2 separate regions of the Homo sapiens genome follow, and region 2 is linked to region 1. Evidence: promoter capture Hi-C in 16 types of primary human blood cells and fetal thymus (Javierre and others, 2016). All regions are on one chromosome and are shown on one strand. The core of a region is centred on a gene start or on the middle of the fragment in contact, and the rest is flanking DNA. Distances in the headings are between cores, read along the strand shown.

What was found. Contacts are between HindIII fragments. The CHiCAGO score rates a contact against its expected background, and 5 or more counts as called.
Region 2: a fragment that was not itself captured here is called in contact with the fragment with the promoter of SELPLG in region 1 in 2 of 17 cell types (naive CD8 T cells and naive CD4 T cells); the score reaches 7.8 in naive CD8 T cells.

Annotation. Positions count from the first base shown.
Region 1 is chr12:108,630,357-108,635,143 of GRCh38, reverse strand. SELPLG (selectin P ligand) reads left to right here and starts at 1,250. Exons shown (of 2, transcript NM_003006.4): 1 at 1,250-1,404. It overlaps LOC105369968 (a long non-coding RNA gene), which reads right to left. Exons shown (of 3, transcript XR_007063449.1): 2 at 1-813. RefSeq lists a silencer at 439-488 and enhancers at 1,729-1,778, 3,187-3,336. The HindIII fragment of the contact is 5,781 bases long and covers 1,073-4,787 here.
Region 2 is chr12:107,320,395-107,325,659 of GRCh38, reverse strand. All of the region lies in intron 1 of ABTB3 (ankyrin repeat and BTB domain containing 3), which reads right to left. Among named protein-coding and RNA genes, the nearest start is that of ABTB3, 4.6 kb to the right of the region's middle. The HindIII fragment of the contact is 5,263 bases long and covers 1-4,586 here.

The DNA.
Region 1 (4,787 bases), core at 1-2,500:
CCTGAGGTCGAGAGTTCAAGACCAACCAGCCTGACAAACGTGGAGAAACCCCATCTCTACTATAAATACAAAATTAGCCGGGGTGGTGGCACATGCCTGTAATCCCAGATACTCGGGAGGCTGAGGCAGAAGAATAGCTTGAACCCGGGAGGCGGAGGTTGCGGTGAGCCGAGATTGTGCCATTGCACTCCAGCCTGGGCAAAAAGAGTGAAACTCCATCTCAAAAAAAAAAAAAAAAAACAACTTTGTGCAAGGCAAGATATGAGTATCTTTCTGTGCATGTCCTGAGCCCTTGCCTGGTGCAAAGCCGCAGGGCAGATCCTGGGAGACCCCCCTATTCCCTCCCTTCTGGAAGTGTCTGGGTATTCTTAGGCCTCCCAGCCTTTGCCTCTGCTGTGCTCTCTGCCTGGGATGCCCACCTGGCTTGTCATCTCAAGTGCCACTTCTTGGAAGCTCCTCCTGTTAACCTCCCTCCCCCACCCAGGATGGAAGGAGAGGCCCCTCCCTTGCTCACCGCAGGATGGCACTCACTGCGCTGTGTCATTGTGGCATGATGTTCCACCGAATTGTTTACTCGCTGGCCTCCCCATTGGATGGAGGGCTACCAGAGGGCCACAGCCCAGAATTGCTGGCCTTTAGACCTCAGGGCATGCAGTCTGGAGTGCCAGAGTTGGTCAAATGAACAAATTTAGGATGAAGAAATAAGATAAGCAGGACTTGCCCTTGTGGTATCTGTAGTCCAGCTCCCTAGAGAGGCTCTTGGTTGCAGCTGAAAGGGCCTGTGCTGTGCATCTACAGAGAGTGTTTTGAGTCCTGCGAGAAGAAATACACCATATTTGCAAACCCTTTGAAGGTTCATATTTTGTGTTTTTTGCTCCCTGACCACCTCCCACCCCTCCCCACGCCCCACCAATCTTGGGCAAGAAGCGAGACCATTCTCCTTTTTCTCTGGTCACTCCTGTCCTTCAGGGGGCTCCCTCTGGCCCCGACTGTCCATTGCTGCTGAAGTAATGCTGTGGCCTTTCTCAGTTTGGGCCCCACCCAAAACCGAAGAACTTCTCCCCAGAAAGCTTCTACTTGGTTCTCAGTGTTTTCACAGTTATGGGAACCCAAGAACAGTGTCAGACCTAGGAGGTGCCCCACTACCACCCTGTCTTTATCAATGTTGTCACCAAAGCTGTCACAAACAATGGGGTGTGGGCTGTCACATGGCCCTGCCTAAGTAACCACATTCTCGCTTCCTCCTTCCACACACAGCCATTGGGGGTTGCTCGGATCCGGGACTGCCGCAGGGGGTGCCACAGCAGTGCCTGGCAGCGTGGGCTGGGACCTTGTCACTAAAGCAGAGAAGCCACTTCTTCTGGGCCCACGAGGCAGCTGTCCCATGCTCTGCTGAGCACGGTGGTAAGTGCTGGCTTGCAAAACCACAGGGAGTGGCTGGAGGTCCCCATGGGCCAAGGGCCTGCCTTATAGCTGCTGGCAGGCCCGGGTAGGACCGCCAGGCCCTTCTTGAGCTGCAGCACCTGGGGAGGGCAAACTGAGGCTCCTCCGACTCAAGACTAAAGTCTTCCTGGAGTCTGTGGCCTTATTCTGTGACTCTTCTGAATCCTGCTCCTGCCAACTTTTTTTTTCCTTCTTTTTTTGAGACAGGGTCTTACTCTGTCACCCAGGCTGGAGTGCAGTGGCACAATCATGGCTCACTGCAGCCTTAAACTCCTGGGCACAAGTGATCCTCCCACCTCAGCCTCCTGAGTAGCTGGGACTACAGGCGCACATCGCCGCATGCAGCTAATATTTTTACCTTTCCTAGAGATGGGGTCTCACTTTGATGCCGAGGCTGGTCTCAAACTCCTGGCCTCAAGCCTCTTGCGTTGGCCTCCCAAAGTGCTGAAATTACAGGTGTGACCCACCAGCCCCAGCCTCCCATTAACTTACTTCCCTCCCTGGCCAGTTTGCCTGCAGCGTCTGGCTTGGCGGCATTCTGATTTTGAAAATCAGAGAAACCATGAGTGTTTCCCTAGAAATGATCTTATCCTCTCCTTTCCTGGATGGGAAACTGAGGTCGGGAGAGGTGAAGGGATTTGTTTAGGGGCAGAGCTGAGATTAGGTCTGGAAGACTCCAGAAAGTAGGGGGAGTGCAGGATTTCTCTTGAAGCTGCATGTTATGGACGCATAAAAAAGTTCTTTTCAGAGAAAGATGCATTCTTCCCACTTTTTATAAGACTGAGGAAATGACACTTGTCTGTGGCAAACTATTAAAATATTAGAATTAAGATACTATTGTTAGCAAAAGGGAAAACAATAATAATAATAATAATTAGAATATTTGGCTGGGTGCAGTGGCTTACACCTGTAATCCCAGCCCTTTGGGAGGCCGAGGCAGGTGGTTGGCCTGAGCTCAGGAGTTCTAGACCAACCTGGGCAACATGGTGAAACCTCGTCTCTACCAAAAATACAAAAACTTAGCTAGGTGTAGTGGTGTATGCCTGTGGTCTCAGCTACTTGGGAGGCTGAGGTGGGAGGATCACTTGAACCTGGGAGGGGGAGGTCGCAGTAAGCCGAGATTGTGCCACTGCACTCCAACCCGGGTGGCAGAGTGAGACCCTGTCTCAAAAAAAAAAAAATTAGAATACTCTTATTAGTTTGTATTTGAGATACTTTCAGGACACTAAAAGGAAATGGTGGGGGCCAGTTGTGCCCTGCTGTACACACATTCACACACACACACACACACACACACACACACACACACACCCCATATTGTCGATATCTGGGCTTCTGTTGCCTGGAATTCTCTTCCTCTTTCCTCTTTCTTCTGTTTTCCTTTTTTTTCCATCTCTGACTTTGAGGCCCCCAGAGCCAGGCCCCTCAGTGGGCCGGGGCCTCAGAAGGTGGCTCCCAGGCCCTCAGACAGCCCCAGAGTCTCTTCCGAGGCCGTGCCCTGGGTGGTTGATGCCTCCCTCAGCAGGCTTGGCCAGCAGCCAGGGGAGTTAAACCTCAGAGAGCGGAAGGGCTGGGTTGCTAGGCTGGGCCCAGAGTGGGGCATTCAGAGGAGCTGGGGAATCAATCATCCGAGAACCTTGGAGGGTGGACAGTGCCCCTTTTACAGATGAGAAAACTGAGGCTTGAAGGGGAGAAGCAGCTGCCTCTGGCGGCATGGCTTCTGGCTGCAGGATGCCCATGGAGTTCGTGGTGACCCTAGGCCTGTGTCTCGGCTTCCTTTGCTGAACTTGAACAGGAAGATGGCAGTGGGGGCCAGTGGTCTAGAAGGAGATAAGATGGCTGGTGTGTGTGTGTTGGGGGTCTGTGTTTGTTAATCTGTCTGTCTACACAGGGGTGTTTAGAAAACTGTTTAAAGACAGTTGTTCAACTAACCAGATGTAGGTCTCATTGAATTCATTTGTGCCAAGTACCTTACTGCCTCTGGATCAGGCCAGCAAGTTTGGGTTCCAACAGGTGTAACTTGGTTCTTGGTGGGGTGGAGGGTAGGGAGGGGGGTGTAACAAAAAAATCTCAACTAACACTGTGGTTTGCAAGCCACCAAACATTAAACAGATATACAGCATATCTGTGCTATTAACTTTTCATGAGGAGGGCTGGTCACCGTGGCTCATGCCTATAAATCCCAGCACTTTGGGAGGCTGAAGCAGATGGATTGCTTGAGCCCAGGAGTTTGAGACCAACCTGGGCAACATGGGGAAAACCCATCTCTACAAAAAATTTAAAAGTAGCCGGGTCTGGTGGCATGCACCTGTAGTCCTAGCTACTTGGGAGGATCGCTTGAGCCCAGGAGTTCAAGCCTGCAGTGAGCTATGATTGCACCACTGTAGTCGAGCCTGGGCAACAGAGAAAGACCCTATCTCTAAAATTAAATAAATAAATAAACCTTTCATAAGGGCGATGATAAGTGGGAAAAAATGTCTACAGAGACTCCCTGATGTGAGTTGAGGTAGATGACGGAAAGAGGTTGCAAAGTGTCAGCTGGCAAATGTGGTGTGAAAAGTGTGAAGACAGCACGTGCTGTGCAGTTCTGTGCACGTTCCCCTGCCTCAGTCACATGTCCTCTTCTGCAGAGGCATTTAGTGAGGCCCCTGGGGATGCCAGGAGACCCAGGAGAGCTCCTGCCCTCCAAAAACTTGTGGTCTGGTGGGGGCAGCAGAGCAGACAGCCACAGTGGTTGCCAGCCACTGGGGCGAGTGTTGCGAGGGGTGTGTGCCTGCCCATCGGCTGAATCCTGGGCCTGTGGCCTGATCAGCAAGACAGCTGTGGTTCCTGCCTTCTGGAAGTTTAGGAGTCAATGTGAATACATTTTTAGAAAATAAATGAACAGCAGAAATGATTTAAACACGGGAGGTGACTAATCGTGCCTGGGGCAATCTGGAAAGGCTTCTGGGAGGACTCAGCATTTCCCTGGCCCTCTTCAACCCACAACAACCCCATAAAAAGCGGGTGCTACCATTGTCCTTGTATTCCAGCTAAGGAACCCACAGCTCAGAGAGGTGAGGTGAGTTGCCCCAGGTCACACAGCTTCTAAGGGACAGAGCTGGGGATTGACCTGGTTTGATGTGACTCCCAGGGCACAGCAGGGCAGGGCAGGGCCTGTCCTGTCTACCCAGACTTAGATCTGCTGCCTGTGCCTCAGTTATCTGGGGTCTTTCCTTCTCTTGGTGACTACTTGACCCAAACCCTGAGATGCTCAGTCTTTTGAATTTTAGCATTCCAAGATCCTGCCCGCTCTGACCACCAGTTTCAGGATTCTCAGTGCAAGGTTCCTAGCGGCGTGGAGC
Region 2 (5,265 bases), core at 706-3,205, 1.3 Mb after region 1:
TAGAGGCCTTCCTTCTATTCAAAGTTCATCAACTCCACCCTTGACCCTAGGTCTTCAGGTTAGTCCTTCATTGTTTTTATTTTGTTATTTTTATTTTATGTTTCAGGAAAACACCCAACTTGCAAATGCCCCAGCACTGAACTAGCAAGTCTGCACAGAAAACCAAATCACCCTCTACTGACCCAAATTCCAAGTTTTAATTTACATCAAGCCAGTTAATTAAAAAGGTGCTCTGTGAGCACAGATACTGCTACAGCTGGCTCTTGAGATAGCATTTGTTGTTCCTCTTAAGAAGATGGGTTCCTTCTGTGACATTTTTGGTCCAACACAGCAACACTGCTCAACAGAACAGCATGACCAGTTTAGGGACAGGAAAACGGCTGAGCAAGCATTTTGTGCAGAGACAATAGAAAAGCAAGAGACCTGAAAACCAACCTACCCTCCAAGCCCGTGCTGACAGGTGAGGGCTTGTGTTAATTAATGTTTATTAAGTGATTGGGGATCCCTGAAATGAAAGAGACTATTCAAAATCCCACAAGTATTATTGTTATCTCCAGCCTGAATAATCTGTTTTTTGAGGAAGCCATTATTATCGAGTGCCTACTATGTGGCAGGTGCTTTTATAAACTGTATCTGATTTAATCTTTGTAATCGCCCATTGCGTTCGGTTTGGGTTTTCTTCCTTTTTAAAATACATCTTCTTTTGTTTTGTAATCCTCACTGTACAGATGAGAAAACTAAGTTCAGCAAAATTAAGTCACTTGCTAGAGAATGGTAGAGTGAAAATTTGGGGTTAGATCTAAGCGTAAGGTCTTTCTCCCTTTCCTTTTCATCATTCCATACTGCCTCTTCTGGTCTGCCCTTCAAATTGTACATTTAAAACAAAATTTAATTCAAGAATGCCTATGGCTTTTTTTTTGGTGTGTCTTTTTTTTAACTGAAGTATATTTCACAATACAGTAAAATGCACAAATACTAGGTTTACCATTAGATACCAGCCTGGCCAGCATGGTGAAACCCCGTTTGACAAATGCATATACCTCTGAACCCACATCCCAATTAACATAAGGGACTACATCCAGAAAGTTTCCTGGTGCCTCTTCACTAAAGGTAGATATCATTGAAGTTTAAAGTACAGCAAATAAAATAAGCTAACTTAATTTTATTTTATTTTATTTTATTTATTTATTTTTTGTAGAGCTGAGATCTTACTATGTTGCTTCAGCTGGTCTCAAACTCCTGGCCCCAAGCAATCTTCCTGCCTCAGCCTCCCCAAAATAAGCTATTTTCCTTTGACCAAAACAATCTTTTTGTGACCCTGGCCACAGGGCTGTGCCCATGGCATCAATCCTTGAGGTGGGTGTACTGAGTTACTTGGTGCTATAATAAAAAGGAGGATCCAGTTAAAATTCTGTGCCTTGTTGGCTCCATCCACCCTAAGCATGTGGGAATGAATTAATCTGGATGTGATAGAGATGAGATACCATTGTGCCTGGATTATCACAACTATCATCATCATTTTAGCACCTACCATGTGTCAGCACCAGATTATAATAGGCTTAGACACATAATCTCATTTAATCCTTGTAATTATTACCTCTGTTTTACAGCTGAGGAAACTGGAGGACAGAGAGGTTGGGTCGCATACCTAAGAACACACAGCTAGAAAATGGCAGCCTTGAAATTCAAATCCTAGAGGTCCAACACCAGAGGCCATTCTCTTAACAACTGCCTTTACAGGTGATAGGCAAATTTTAAATGCCTAAAATTGAATGAGCTGGTTATATTCGTTTAACAAGCAGTAGAGAGTATCTGTTATACAAAGTGCCAGGCACTGTGCTGAGTGATATGGAAGGAGACACAGAGATGAATAAGAATGGAGAAGGGGTTGCATCAAGGAAGCCCTCACAAGGAAGCCAGGAAGACCAACTCATTCTTGAAGCCAAGTCTTCAAGGATGAGTAGGAACTGGCCAGCTCTAAAGGAGTTTAAGGTACAATGACTAGCACATACAAAGGCACAGTGAAGTACTTCTGCCCCCTCCTTATTTAGCTCAATCAAGTCAAATTTTTAAAACTCCACAGAAACATCAATGGGGTCCCTTAGCTGTTTCCCCGGCTCTTCAAAACAGCTGAAAATCAACACAAAACTCCAGTTCTGAAAAGTTTTTACATAACCACAAAGTTCATGCCCACAGCAAACCCATGGATGTGATTTTCGAGAGCCCCTAAGCCTTCTTTTGCTTTAGAGCCAATTATCTTTTTTTTCTGAATCCAGTCCCATGTGACTAGTTTCACAATTCCTTAGCCTGGGCAGTTTAGCAGCAGCAAATTAGAAAGGTGGACAGGTACAGAAATGGCAGTAAGAAGGGGCAACCAAGGAAGAAGAACTTGGAGCCAGTGCCTGCCTGTAGTCCCAGCTACTCGGCTGAGGTGGGAGGATTTCTTGAGCTCAGGAGTTCAAGGCCAGCCTGGGCAACATAGTGAGACCCCTTCTTTAGAACAACAATAACAACAAAGTAGAAAAACTTGCAAAGATGATTCAAGAAACTCAAAAAGCAATAGCTTCTTTCAGGACATCATTGTATAATACAGTACAATAGCTTGCTCAACTCAAAAAGGTATCTAATAAGCTCCAACTGTGTACTAGGGCCTCTCTTAGGCTTAGCAGGGGATAGAAAAACATGAAAAATCCAGTTCTGCCCAGTTCCATTTGATAGGAACAAAAAGTATATAATTCAGGAATTATATGACAGGAAGGGTCTCTGTTCACCTGTGTGGGTAATAAAGGGCAGGTGGGATGCCTGAAGGCAGGGAACTCATCTGTCACTAAAGAGTCATACAGACAGGAGTTAAGAGTACGGACTCTGGAGCCAGGCTATCTGCATTTAAATAAGCAAGATACTTAAGTTCCCTATGCCTCAGTTTCTTCCTGTATATAATGGGTACTGGGGATCAAATGGGTCAATATACAGAGCCCTGCTGGATACATGTTAGCTGTTATTACCTCTTACCCAGCACTTGCTCAGACCCTAGAATTCGGCAACTGTAATAAGTTTCGATAAACAAATGAATTCACAAATGAATAAATAAATGATGCTACCAAGTTAAAGGAGGGAAAATCTATTATGTAAGGTATGTTGTCCTTAATAAGGCTTGCAGATCAGAAAGACTCCGTACAAAATAGTTTAAGAAATAGGTTTGATGTTTAATGTATGATTCCAATACCTAAGGAATTAATCACTCATTCTTTAACTCTTCTGCATATTCAACCTGCCATTTTAAACAAGCCCAAAGAAAAGGCATGAAGAGATCACAATGAAATCATAGTATATCTCATACCCAGAGGAGGCTGAAGGGGCCCCGAAACCCAAGAGTTAAGCGCTGTGGTGTGGGAGAGGTTGTGATGGCAGCAAACCCCAACCGTCACACACTCACCCTGCCCAAAACCAACTCTGTGGTCTTCTCCTTCCTTAAATTATACTTCCTCCAAAAAGGGTAAACACAAAAACTGTTTTTAAAAGTTGTTAAGGTTCATAAAAGTAAAACCTATTTGAAAAAATATAGAAGCAACTACCACAGAGCTACAAGAGGACCTGGGGGTGTATTACATATCTAGCCCCCTATTTTACAGATGAGGCAACTGAGGCCCAAAGATGTAAAGTGACTTGTCCAAACTCACAACTTCAGGATAATGGCAAAGGCAGAAGTAGGGCAGGGTGACCAGATTTCCACACTAGAGCCTTCCAAAGGAAATACTGAGGGAGAAAAAAGAAGAGGTTCCAGGCCCAGAAGGTGGGTAAGGAGCTGGGAGTCAGGGGCAGCAAAGAGTAAAAGATGATTGTCATGGGAGCCACCAGGAAGGAAATTAAGCCCCTCTGTGCTTTTTGGTGGAGGTAGGGTTTCAAACAAAGAGCAATCCAGTCCAAAGCTCCCAGGTTTTGCAGGTGAATCCCCGCATTCTGAAGAAGCACATACAAAGCCCAATGCCTTCTCCCCAGATGTTTCCATCTTAGTCGATATTTCAGGATGTGTGTGTGTGTGTGTGTGTGTGTGTGGCCTCGAAGATATCCTCTCTTTGAGGGTTGTGCCCTGGCTGGCAGCAGACGGGGAAGGGCTCTGGCAAAGAGATCCCGAAGAGTCTCCGAGATCAGTGCGGATTCCCCTCCCCAACACACACAAACACACACCCGCTTTGCTCCTTCCTTCCCCTCCCCCACTGACGATCAAATCCAGGTGAAGGGACCGAGGGCGGCAGGGTCGGTTTCCAAAGGCTTCGGCTGGAGCCGGGCGCCCTGCGCGCCCGCTTGTTCCTGCGCACACTCACAAGCACACTTACACACGCACAGACGCGCGCGCACACAGACTCTCACACGCACATGCACACCCTTGGCACCGCCCACCGCAGTGCTCCTCCAGCCCCCGGGAAACAGACAGGCAGCAACATGAATGAAATCTGCCCAGAAAGACTGCATTTCAGCTCCAACCGCGCAACCTCTGGCCAAACCGCCGAATATGTAACAAAGTTTTATTTCGCCTTTAGAGTCTCCAGTTACGTTTCTACCATTTCCTGTGGAAAATTGAAGCTTTGAAGTGTCTAGCTCCGGCTTTCGCAGACGGGCAGCACCGCCAGCGCGAGCTCTCGAAAACAAGCGCCCCGGCCCCACCCCCTTCAAGGACAGAACTGCGGGTTCAAACCTACCCAAGTCAGGCCTTCAAAACAGTGGGGCATGAAGAGACGATGATAGAACCTGCTGGAAACGACGCCCTAAACTAACAACCCCCTCCAGAACTGCCCCCCGCCAGCTCCATCCTGCCCAGATCCCCAGAGGCGCTCCTTCAGCCAAGTGGTGAGAGCTGCAGCTCCCTGCCAGAGGGAATGGAGAGGCCAAGAGCTGGGAGGCTGGAATTGGGGGCTTTGTCCATCCCGCAGCCCCCACCAGCTGTGTGCTCTAGCCCTCAAAAACTGCTCTGGAAAAACTTGGCACCGACAAGTCTTCCCGCACCCCAGTCTCACCACACACACCTTTACGACTGTCTAGGCCGTGCAAGCTTTCAACCATTCAGCCGGTACGGCCGCCAGGCCCCTCCTTCCCCCGTGCACTGCGTGCCCCCCGAGGGAGTGGGGAAGTGGGAGCACTGGATTGCGGAGAGCGGAACGCGCCTCCTCCCAAGTCCTAGGGAGCCCAATTCATGCGCCCAGGGAAGTGGCATCTTCAAGGTCAAAACAAACAGTGCAGGGGTGGAGTATATGTACTAAGCGCAAA